Regions from separate parts of the Homo sapiens genome. Here region 1 is linked to region 2. The links are contacts of gene promoters, found by promoter capture Hi-C in human tissues and cell types (Jung and others, 2019). All regions are on one chromosome and are shown on one strand. Each heading gives the region's core, a stretch centred on a gene start or on the middle of the fragment in contact. The rest is flanking DNA. Distances are from core to core; before and after follow the strand shown. Region 1 has its middle 36 kb from the start of PRPSAP2. Region 2 holds the start of FAM83G (family with sequence similarity 83 member G).

Region 1 (5,645 bases), core at 464-2,963, 180 kb before region 2:
GTCTGTTCTTAGGTTTCAGCTGGCATCTGTTTCCAGCTCTTGGTGCTATTTGCAACCTTGTATCTTAGGATGAAGGCATAAAGGTTTTCAAGCAGCAAAACCTTCCAGGGTTAGATAAGAGTGTTTCACTGTGGATCTGTGAGCACCTATAGCCACTGTGTGCATCCCTCTGGGACCCCAGCAACTGCTTCTGAGAAAACAGAGGGATGGAGAAGAGGACGCCACCCAGATGGTGGAAACATCTATCAAAAGTTAGGATGTCCTCTAGAAAGCCTCTTTGGGTGTCTGATTTCATATCTCCTTCCTCATCAGAGAATGGCGTCGCCTCCTATTTGATGAGAATTTAAACACATCTAGAACATGTGCTTACCTTTTCCTATCTCCTGTCTCTGGGATCACATCATACTGCCTCCAAGAATCCTGTCCTTAACCCCCTTCCTTAGAATTTACAGCATAGCCTGGAAACAACCAAGCATTCATCTTTATTCTAAAGTACCTAGAACAGAGCTGGATCTGTGACACATATTCAAAGGCTGTTTAATCAAACAGGAAAAACTCATATTTGGAGTAGGGAGTAGGGGGAGGCAAAATGGTACTCTCAATGAATTATAATATTTTAAAATTTGTCTAATAGAGAGTATAAAACAAACCAGAGAAGCATAAAGGAAGGTCATGCTAATTTTCATGAGGTATTTTCTAACTCCAGGAACAAAATGGTGAAAGGGCATTCTAAGTCAAAGGAATTTATCATGTAAAGACGGGAGTAACACACACACACACACACACACACACACACCACTCTGCTACAACCACAAGAAACACTTTGTTGTTCTTCAAATGCACCAAGCTCTCTTCAGCAGTGTTTTGTAGTGCGTATAGGACATCTTTGAAATATTCTGGATATTTAATCTTTGTCTTCTTGGCATGTTAAAAATATCTTCTGGCGGCTGGGCACGGTGGCTCACGCCTGTAATCCCAGCACTTTGGGAGGCCGAGGCGGGCGGATCACGAGGTCAGGAGATCAAGACCATCCTGGCTAACACGGTGAAACCCTGTCTCTACTAAAAATACAAAAAATTAGCCGGGCGTGGTGGCGGGCGCCTGTAGTCCCAGCTACTTGGGAGACTGAGGCAGGAGAATGGCGTGAACCTGGGAGGCGGAGCTGGCAGTGAGCCGAGATTGCGCCACTGCACTCTAGCCTGGGCGACAGAGTGAGACTCTGTCTCAAAAAAAAAAAAAAGAAAAAAAAAATCTTCCAGCCAGGTGCAGTGCTCATGCCTGTAATCTCAGCACTTTGGGAGGCCAAAGGGGGTGGATCACCTGAGGTCAAGAGTTCAAGACTAGCCTGGCCAACATGGTGAAACCCATCTCTACAAAAATACAAAAATTAGCTGGGCATGGTGGTGGGTGCCTTTAATCCCAGCTACTTGGGAGGCTGAGGCGGGAGAATCGCTTGAACCTGGGAGGCAGAGGTTGCAGTGAGCCGAGATCGTGCCACTGCACTCCAGCCTGGCAACAGAGCGAGACTCTGTCTCAAAAAGAAAAAAAAAAGAAAAAAAAGGCCTGGCGGGGTGGCTCATGCCTGTAATCCTAGAACTTTGGGAGGCCGAGGTGGGTGGACTGCCTGAGCTCAGGCATTCGAGACCAGTCTGGGCAACACAGTGAAACCCCATCTCTATTAAAATACAAAAAATTAGCCGGGCGGCATGCACCTGTAGTCCTAGCTACTCGGGAGGCCGAGGCAGGAGAATCACTTGAACCCGGGAGGCAGAAGTTGCAGTGAGCCGAGATCGCGCCACTGTACTCCAGCCTGGGTGACAGAGCGAGACTACGTCTCCAAAAAAAAAAAAAAATTCTGCTCTATAACTTCACGTTTAACATTGTTTAGGGAGGTTTTTGTTTGTTTGGTTTGTTCTTTTTAGAGGGAATCTCGCTCTGGTGGTGCACAGGTGTGCACCACCATGCCTGGATAATTTGTGTATATTTGTAGAGATGGGGTTTCACCATGTTGGTCAGGCTGGTCTGGAACTCCTGACCTCCGGTGATCCGCCCACCTTGGCCTCCCATTGTGCTGGGATTACAGGTGTGAGCCACAATGCTTGGCCAGGAGTGTTTTGACTTTTATAAGTTTTTTAAAAAATGTAGCCAAACTTACCAACTTTTATGACTTCTCTTTTCAATATTCATTGAAAACCCTCTTTATCAATGTAATAATGATATGCTACATTTTCTTTTAAAGTTATAAAATGCTGCTTTTCATATTTAGCTTTTAAAATTATCTAGAATTTATCTTGGCATATAGACTGAAGTAGGGATCTCATTTTATCTTTCCCCATGTAGACAGCCAATTGTATCAGCACCCTGTATTGAATAATCCAGATTTTCCTCACTGATTTGTGATGCCATTCTGTCAAATACCAAGTTCCTGGTGTGAATAGGTCTATTTTTTCCTTATTTATTTATAGGGGTACTTTGTGTTTTCTGAATGCTAATTCTTTGCCACTGATATATATTGTGAATGTCTTATCTCACTTTGAATTTCTCATGAATAGCAGCTCAATTAAAATTATCAATCTTTTATAGTTTCTGTTTTATGCTTCATATTTGTGAATTTCCTTCTTACCCTAAGAACATAAAGATATTTTCCTATATAGTCTCTTAAATGTTTCATAAGTTATGTCTTTAAGCCTCCTCAAATTGATTTTTTTGGTATGGTGTGAGGTAGAATCTGTAGTAATTTGTAATATTTGCTCAGAATTCTTTCTTTCCTTCCTGCCTGTGCCATGATTCATTTTGGGTAGAATGTACTCCACTTCCCCCCTGTCTTTGAGCTTAACCACGTGACTTGTTTTGGTGATTAGAATGTGAGCAGATATAATGTATGTCCCACCCAATAAGAAACTTTAAATGTGTGGTTTGATTTACTCTCGTGTATTCCTTACCTGCAACATGAGAAGTGCATGCCCCGGGTGGCCACACTCCTTCAGCTTGGGTCAGAGAATGAGAGACATGTGGAGTAGACCTGATCTGACCTCTGTGTGACTTATAGACCTCTGTGTGACAAATATATGTTTGTCATTATATGCTACTGAGATTTGGGAAGTTGTTTGTTACACAGCATAATTGCAGCAACATGGCTAACACAGAATCACATTTCTTTTTATTTCCCATGTGGCTAACCAATTACTGAAATATCTGTCCTTTTCACATTAATCTCCAATACCAACTCCATCATAAACTAAGCTTCTCTATATATGTGGTTCTCTTTCATGCCTCTCTTTTCAGTTACATTTCTCTATTTGAATATCCCTATACCAATACCCACTAACTTAATTAGTAGAGATTATAATAATTTTTTTTTTTTTTGAGATGGAGTCTCGCTCTGTCGCCCAGGCTGGAGTGCAGTGGCATAATCTCAGCTCACTGCAAGCTCCGCCTCCTGGGCTCATGCCATTCTCCTGCCTCAGCCTCCCAAGTAGCTGGAACTACAGGCGCCCACCACCACTCCTGGCCAATTTTTTTGTATGTTTAGTAGAGATGGGGTTTCACCATGTTAGCAGGATGGTCCTGATCTCCTGACCTTGTGATCTGCCTGCCTCGACCTCCCAAAGTGCTGGGATTACAGGTGTAAGCTACCGCACCTGGCCAGATTATAATAATTTTATAATCAACTTGTTAAGTACCAAAAAAGCTCTGCTAGAATTTTGATCATAACTCCATTGAAACCGTGTATCAAGTGGGGGGAATTCTCATCTTTGCAATATTGAATCTTCTGATCCATGAACATTGTATGTCTCTTAAGTCCTTGATTTCTTTAAGTAAAGTTTTTATAATTTTCTCTATAGAGGTCTTTTCTATTTGTGGTTAGCTTTATTTTTGGGTACTTTACATTTTCTGTTGCTATCATTAGTAGTATTTTATGCCATCACATTTTTTTAAAGGTTCATTTTAAATGTATATACTTTAGGATTTTTGTGTAGATATTTTGGGATTTTTATCTAGACAAACATGCAAACTGCAAATGATGACAGATTTTTTTTCCTTCATTTCCAATCTTCATATTTTTTTATGCGTTACTGCTTTCACTAGGAACTCCAGTATAATTTTGTAAGGACATGGTGGTATCAAGCACCCTTGCTTGCCCACAATATTAAGGGGAACATTTATAATATCACAGTTAACGGTAAAATGTTGAAAGCTTTGTTTGAACATGCGTGGATGTCCACTTTCAGCCATAATGTGATAACAAGAACCAGACTTATCCTCCCACTGTGAGTAACTAGAAAGTGGACAAGATACATAAAATAACTTATTTCAGGAAGTACATGATTGTGATCCCTGGGAAAATGGACATAAGTGAAAAGAACCCTATAATTGCCTTGGCTTTCTACCTGGAGGCAATTTCTGACAATAGGATAAGGGAGGAGGAATCTAAATAGAGCCTGAAATCCTCTCTGAGTTGAGAAGATCAAAGATGACCCAAAAAAGGGAACCCAGAGGACGTTAGGTGATCTGAAACCATGTCATCTGGAAAATAGTTAGAAGTCCTGGGCTGTTTAACTGGCAGTAGGGAAGACTGAGGGGCAATATGAAAACTGTCTTTAGAGATTAGAAAAACTGTCATGTTGAACAGGGGTTGTTTGTGTTCTGTATGGCCCTGAAAGACAGAGTTTAGGACAGCTGGATGGAAATGAGAGAAAGAGGATTTTGGTGAAATCCAAGGAAACACTTTCTAGCAATCATGGTTGATCAGGCTGGAGTGGGCAGCCTTCCTCAGCTGGCGGATGAAGGCACTGAGCAAGCATGCTGGGTTGTTGCTGAAGGAGCTTCTGTAGTGGCAAGTGACCAAGCTAAATGGCATCCAGGGTCCCTTTTACTCTTAAAGTTTTTCATAGTTTGGTTTGCATAGCTTGGCCTCCATAAAAGGCAGCTGTTACCAAATGACAGTGCTTTTTGTTTGTTTGTTTGAGACAGAGTCTCGCTGTCGCCCAGGCTGGAGTGCAGTGGTGCGATCTTGGCTCACTGCAGGCTCCACCCCCTGGGGTTCATGCCATTCTCTTGCCTCAGCCTCCAGAGTAGCTGGGACTACAGGCGCCCGCCACCCAGCCCGGCTAATTTTTTGTATTTTTAGTAGAGACGGGGTTTCACCGTGTTAGCCAGGATGGTCTCGATCTCCTGACCTCGTGATCCGTCCGCCTCGGCCTCCCAAAGTGCTGGGATTACAGACGTGAGCCACTGTGCCCGGCCAAGAAAAAGATATTTTTGAGTTAGTAAGTTGTATGTTTTCTTTATAGTCACATTATAATGAATTAGACTTGTTATGAAATTGGAACTTCTATTTAATTTTTAAAATAAATGACTTATGTTTAGTAAATGAATATCAATCACAATTGACCCTTAACAATGTGGAATTTAGGGATGCTTGATTCCCTCTGCAGTCAAACATCTGTGTATAAATTTTGACTCCCCCAAGAACGTAACTACTAATAGCTAACTGTTGACCAGCAGCCTTATTGATAACATAAACAGTCAATTAAGATATGTTTGGTATGGTATATGTATTAATATGCTGTATTCTTACAATAAAGGAAGCTAGGGAAATAAACTGTTAAGAAAATCATAAGGCAGAAAAAATACGCTTACTG
Region 2 (6,096 bases), core at 2,794-5,293:
AGGCAGGGGGCAGGCAGAGTTCTCCCTACACAATACCAGAGTGAGAAGGGGAGGTGGAAGCATGGGCACGAGAGGTGATTCATGGGGAGAGATAAGGCAGGGAGCGCTCCCAGGAAGCAGGCAGACAAAGCGCCCCGTCAGCATCCGTCAGTGTCCGGGCCCTGCCCCTGTGAGCCTGGGAAGCAGCTGGGGCAGGACAGCTGGAGGACTGCAGTGGCCTGGATGAGCTGCCCCTCCCAGCCCCTGCCTGTCACTCTGTCCTGCCAGGGCCAGGGCACAAGGGATAGCCTAGAGTTTGAGGGAAACACAGGCCTGGTCCCCACCCCTCTACCCGAGAACTAGCTAGGTGACCTTGGGCAGCGACTAACCAGTTTCTACATCTGAAAAATGAGACAGATAACACTAGCTGAGATTATAAAGCGCCTCGCACTCAGTCAACACTTGCTATTGTTATTATCCCTGCCCACACATGCCACACAAGCCTGGGCCACAGGTCCCAGGACAGATGTGGCAGGGAAGGAAGTGCCCAGGGCAGAAAGCAGGGGCTTGGCTCACCACAATGCTGTGGAGTCATGAACAAATCCCTGTCCTTCTCTGTGCCTCAGTATCCTTGTCTGTCAGATGAGGAGCTTAGTCTCTACTGCCTCTGAGGCCCCCACTGTGGGACCCTTGAGGACTCCCTGAGGTCTGAGAGTAGGGAGCAGTTTCAGCAGTGAGTGCCCCATCCTGAGGGCTGGAAAAGCAGAAAGCAGGGCCCACCTGTCCGAGGCTGGAGGACATCACTCACTATGGGGCCATGTAGACAGACTGGCACCCAAACTGGAGACCAGCTTCTTCCTGGCTATGTCACCTTAGACAGGTGACAGCAATCACCTTGTGGGAAGCAAAGGAAGGCAATGTCACCTTAGGTGACACTAATAACCTTGTGGGACTTTTGTGGGAAGCAAAGGAAGCTCCAGGTGGCTCATGGGACTGTACGGAGTGGCTGGGTCACAGCTGTAGCCAGAGACTCAGGGAGGAACCTGGGGTCAGCAGGTGAAGTCCTGGCCCTGGGAGCCCCTATCTGGCCCATCGCTGGGCGGGGGATCTGTCTGTCTGCAGACCCTCTGGCTGTTCCCATCTGCCTCCTTCCTGTCGCTGACAAGGAGGGGAGGCACAGAGGAGTGGGAACCTTGGCACAGCAGGTCCCCCTACCCATGGCCTCAGTTTCCCTATTTTCAAGATGGAAGTGGAGGCTGGGTAATGGGATCCCAGCAGGCTCTCTGTGGGGACTGGGTTCTCTAGCCTCCAGCCAGTCATCCCCATCAGGCACAGACATCAGCAGCACTTCCTCCACACCACAGCAGGTGTGGGGCGGGTCTCTCAGTCTGCAAACTATGAAGGTCCCTTCCTCCTCCCCCTCCTCCTCCTCTTCCTCTAACTCCTTCCTTACTTTTGTCACCCGATATTCCATCTTCACAATAGCCAAAGATGCAGCTTTTATCCACACCACCTCCATCTTATAGATCAGAAACCCGAAGCCTCAAAGCTGCCCAGGGTCAGTCAGTGAATTGAGAGCAGCCAGGCCAGGGGCCAGGCGCCCCCACCCAGCTAGCTGACCCAACTGGTCCCCTTGTTGGGCAGGGACTCCACCTTCCTGGAAACTGGGGCCAGGGCCAGGGGCCACCTCACCAGTTCTTGACCCACGTCTGGTTTCTCTGCCCACGAACTTCCCCAAGGCCCTGTCAGTTAGCCAGGATGGTCCCCGAAGCCAGCATTCTGGTCTTCTGCAATTGGCTGCCCTGCTCTGGGACTGGAAGTATAAAGGGATTAGACCCAGCTAGGAACACCTCATCCCACAACCTGAGGCCCAGACCTGGCTTCAGAATCCTTCTCAACACAGCTCACTAGGTAAGCTTTATCTATCAAATTAAGATGTGCTTGGAAACGATGAGAAGGTACTTACGTGCAGCAGGCATTAGCACCTGCTCATGGTCACAACTGTCCAGCAGTGGCCTAGCTGTCTCTGCAAATGGCAAGCACCCCTTCTCAGAATGTGTGACGGTGTGTCAGCCAAGAATGGCCCCCCACAGCTAGGGCACTGCATAGCCCAACAGGGGTGGAGAAGGGGAGGGCCAGAGAAGGCTTGAGGTCCCTTCCGGTGGCAAAATTCAGGTGGACAATGCTCAGGTGGACTCACTCCACTTCCACAGATGAGGACCACACCTCCCTCACCCAAGCATCCTGGCCTGGAAAGTTTCCACCATTGCAAAGCTCACAAAGAGGCTCAGAGAGGGTGTGCAATCTGCTCCCAGTTGCTCAGCACAGCTAGGAAACAGGCAGTGTTGAACAAGGACCTCCAGGCCAGTCTCAGATGGACTTGGACCATGCCTATTCCCTCACCCCACAACAAAAGCTCTCCCCACCAGAGAGCTCATGGTGTGTGCGCGCCTTTACAGTGAATCAGAGCCACTCTAAGGGAGAGTGAGAGGAAGCCCTGGGGTTCCTCCCCTCCCCACTCCACCCTATCTCGGTGCCTTCTTCTGGGGAACCAGAAACACCCTCCAACAATAAAGAGGCCCTTTGAGACGGGGCAGCCCACTGTCACCTGCTAGGACCTGGGAACCCTACCCTGCAAAGAAACTGCGGATCCCCACGAAGGTGGGGAGGAAACCTCCACCCAAGAGGCAGCCAGGGAAAACAGCAGAGATCCCTAGAAGCCCATGTTGGGCTCCCGTTTTGGGCTCTGAGTGAGCCTGTATTGAGAGGGGTCCGGTGGCTGGTTGGGCCATGGCTCCAGGAGTCCCCGCGCTGCCTCACCTTCTGTGCCTGGCTGATCATCTTCCGCACCACCTCTTTGATGTGGGCCTGCCCGTCTATGGGGGGCTGCATGTAGACGCTAGCCCGGGTCACGCCGCGGTAGGCGATGGTGTCGGGCCAGCCCAGGTCCAGCTGCGGGATGGAGCGGTCCGACTTCTGGGGCCAGTACTCCAGGGAGGGCAGCGGCTCGGCCTCGATGGGGACCCCATCCGCCCCGCTGGCTTCCTCGCCGTCGCCGACCCCATTGTCCTCGGGCCCCTGAGAGGGGCCCGTGCCCCGAGGGTCCTCAGAGCCCGGGTCGTACACCTCGATGGTCTCCAGGATGCGCTTGAGCTCCAGCTCCGAGAGGAAGTCTCGGATGTTCTCCCGCTTGAGCACCTCGTAGAAGGCGTCCCGGCCGCGGGCCACCAGGGCCTCCAGCGCCAGCCGCTGCTCCTCGCTGTAGAAGAACTCAGGCTTGGACTCGCTGGAGCGCCAGTTCACATGGTTGTCGTCCAGACACTGCACCTGAGAGAAGGCCATGGCGCCGCCTGCCCGGGCACTGCTGCCGGGGGTGGGTGGGCAAGGTCCAGCTCCTAGCTCCGGCCCAGCTGGGGCACCGCGCGCTCGGGGGCCTCTCCGCGGCCTCTGCTTCTCTGCCCATGAGCAATCTGCGGGAAAGACCTGATGAGCCCGGCTCGGCGGGGAGGGCGGGCCGCGCGGGGAGGGGCGGCGGGGGCGGGGCCGGGAACTCAGGTGGGCGTGGGAAGGACGGGGCTGGGGCTGGGGCTGGGAAGATGAGGTGGGGGCACTGGACTGGGATGGGAAGAAAGTAAGGGATCGGAACAGCGGTGAGGGAGCGGTGGGCCACGTCCCAGGGCTCAGCGTGCCTCTACGTGCAGGGAACCCATATCCCAGATTTCCGGAGCTGCCTGAAGTCCTCGCAACTTCTGAGGGAAACTAGGGCAGCCGGGGAACTTCCCAGTAGCTTCTTAGAGTGGGAGGCGGCCCCGGCACAGAGGCGCCCCGCAAACCGAGGGCTTCCGGGTAAGGGAGGGGTCTTAAAATTTCCGGGTGCCGGCAACCCAGGAGGCCTGCCCGGAGGAGGCTGGGGCTCTGGGAGGGGTCCAGGAGACCCAGAAACGCGGTTGCGGGGCGGCGACGCCCCGCGAGACCCGGGATCCGGGGGGCGCGGCCGGGACTTGCTTACCGAGCGGGCGCTGGCGGAGCGGGGCGCACACGCGGCGGCTGCGGCGGCGGCGCGAGGCTGGGCGGGGGCGCGCCGGTGACTCAGGGCCGCCCCGCTTACCCCGCCGCCGCCACCTGCGGTCACGTGCCGCCCGGGGCGGGGCCGGAAGCTGATTCACCCCTCGACAGACAGACAGACCTGGGGCGGACGCACTGCCCACGGTCCCCTGGTGCCCGAATTCCGAAAATATCAGAGGCCTAAGCCCAAGAGCTCCTGGAACACCCATCCCAGAGAGGGACAGTGTTCTCCCTGAGGTCACACAGCGGGTCAACAGCCTTGGCACCCCCCTGTGCCCCCAGGGTCTGTTGGTGATCCTGGATCAACCCTGGCTGTGCCCAGTTTCGCCGGCGTGGCGGGAAGTCCGTGCGGCTGTATAGATACCCAGCTGTCCAGTTGTGGAAACAGGTCTAGGGTACTGGGCTGGGAGCCCCCAGGCAGGGATAGGGCACTGACTGACCCAAACTCAGGGCTTTCCTGAGCAGATACCCAGTTCTCAGTCCTAAGCCCTGATCCCCTCTGGGAGGGGTCCCCGGACTGCTTCTGCGTGGCGGGCAGCACCCGACCTGAACCCTAGGGCAGGGAGGGGCCAAGAGGGCCGCTGTGGGCTGGGGTCAGGCCCAGCTCTCTGCTGAGCGTCCCCTGGGGTTGGGACCCTGGTTATGGGGAGCGTGGAGACCACATCTGAAGGCAGGCTTTGAGGGTGGGACAGCAAAGCCCATTAAATCTGGCCCAACAAACAGCCCCCACCCCATCGCGTGCCGCAGCCAGTCTGCCCGGCACCAGGCCCAGCCCTTCCTCCCATCCCCCATACTTGCTCTGGATCTGGATGGGGCTGGTTTGGGTCCCGTAAGGATGCTGCTTCCGTAGGCTGGTGACATCTCTAGGCCTTGTGCCCTCAAACCCCCCCCCTCCAAGGCCTTCTCCACCATTCATGGCCCATCAGGACTCCTTGCCTCTGAGTCCACTGCCCTGGGCAATGACTAGCCTCCTAGGCCCAGCATCCTTGTGGTCCCCATCACTGACCCCTCAAGCATGAAGTCCTACACTCTGCCATATAGCCCCCCAAGGGCTTTATGCTACTGAACATAGTGGCCCCTGGGGAACAGGCACACATATTTGCATCCTCCTCCTGCCCCAGGGCCAGAGAGGGGAGGTGATCCCAGCGGGGGAGCCCTGCCTTGAGGGTCCTGAAGACCCATTTATAGCCCCTCTGCTACTGTGGATCCCCTGTAAGACCTTCTCTGAGCCGCCTCAGCTTCTCCCTGTGTTCTTACCAATGCACAGAGGCTGGAGAGTTCAGGAAGGGAGTCCAAGGCCTCACTCCCACCTCCACCACCCCAACACTTCTGCAGTTGATGAGCAGGAAGGTTGTATGCACCCAGTTTTCCCCAGTAGCGACGTTTTGCATAACTATAATACAATAATATCACAGCCAGAAAATTGACACTGGTGCAATCCACAAAGCTTATTTAGATTTCACCAGTTTTTTGTTTGTTTTGGGACAGGGTCTTGCTCTGTCACCTAGGCTGGAGTGCAGTGGTATGTACAATCATTGCTCAATGCAGCCTTGAACTCCTGGGCTCAAGCCTCAGCCTCCTGAGTAGCTGGGACCAGAGACACCATGCCCAGCTAATTTTTTTTCTTTTTTCTTTTTTCTTTTTTTTTTTTTTTTGTAGAGACAAGGCCTCACTATGTTGCTCAGACTGGTCTCAAACTCCTGGCCTCAAGTGATTCTCCCACCTTGGCCTCCCGAAGTTCTGGGATTATAGGCGTGAGCCACTGCACTGGCCAGATTTCACCAGTTTTACATGCACTCATTTATGTGTGTTATACAACCTTATTATGTGTATAGATTTGTGTAACCACCATTACAGTCAAGATACAGAACTGTTCTGTCACTACAAAGATCTCCTTCTCTGTAGCCATCCCCACACCTCCCCCGACCACCATTCCTAACTTCTGGCAACCACTAATCTATTCTACAATTCAACAATTTTGCTGTTTCAAGAATGCTATATAAATGGAAGATATAGTATATAAACTTTTGGGATTGGCCTTTTTTCCCACTT

What was found. Contacts are between HindIII fragments. The study calls those that stand out against the background at their distance.
Region 1: a contact is called between a fragment that was not itself captured here and the fragment with the promoter of FAM83G in region 2, in 1 of the 25 tissues and cell types used here (spleen).

The regions. Positions count from the first base shown.
Region 1 is chr17:18,818,824-18,824,468 of GRCh38, forward strand. No RefSeq gene overlaps it. Among named protein-coding and RNA genes, the nearest start is that of PRPSAP2, 36 kb to the right of the region's middle. The HindIII fragment of the contact is 4,013 bases long and covers 1-3,720 here.
Region 2 is chr17:19,000,721-19,006,816 of GRCh38, forward strand. FAM83G (family with sequence similarity 83 member G) reads right to left here and starts at 4,044. Exons shown (of 6, transcript NM_001039999.3): 1 at 3,989-4,044; 2 at 2,800-3,449. The coding sequence starts at 3,321. The region is part of intron 9 of SLC5A10 (solute carrier family 5 member 10); the gene reads left to right. RefSeq lists silencers at 3,916-4,215, 5,736-6,030. The HindIII fragment of the contact is 10,221 bases long and covers 1-6,096 here.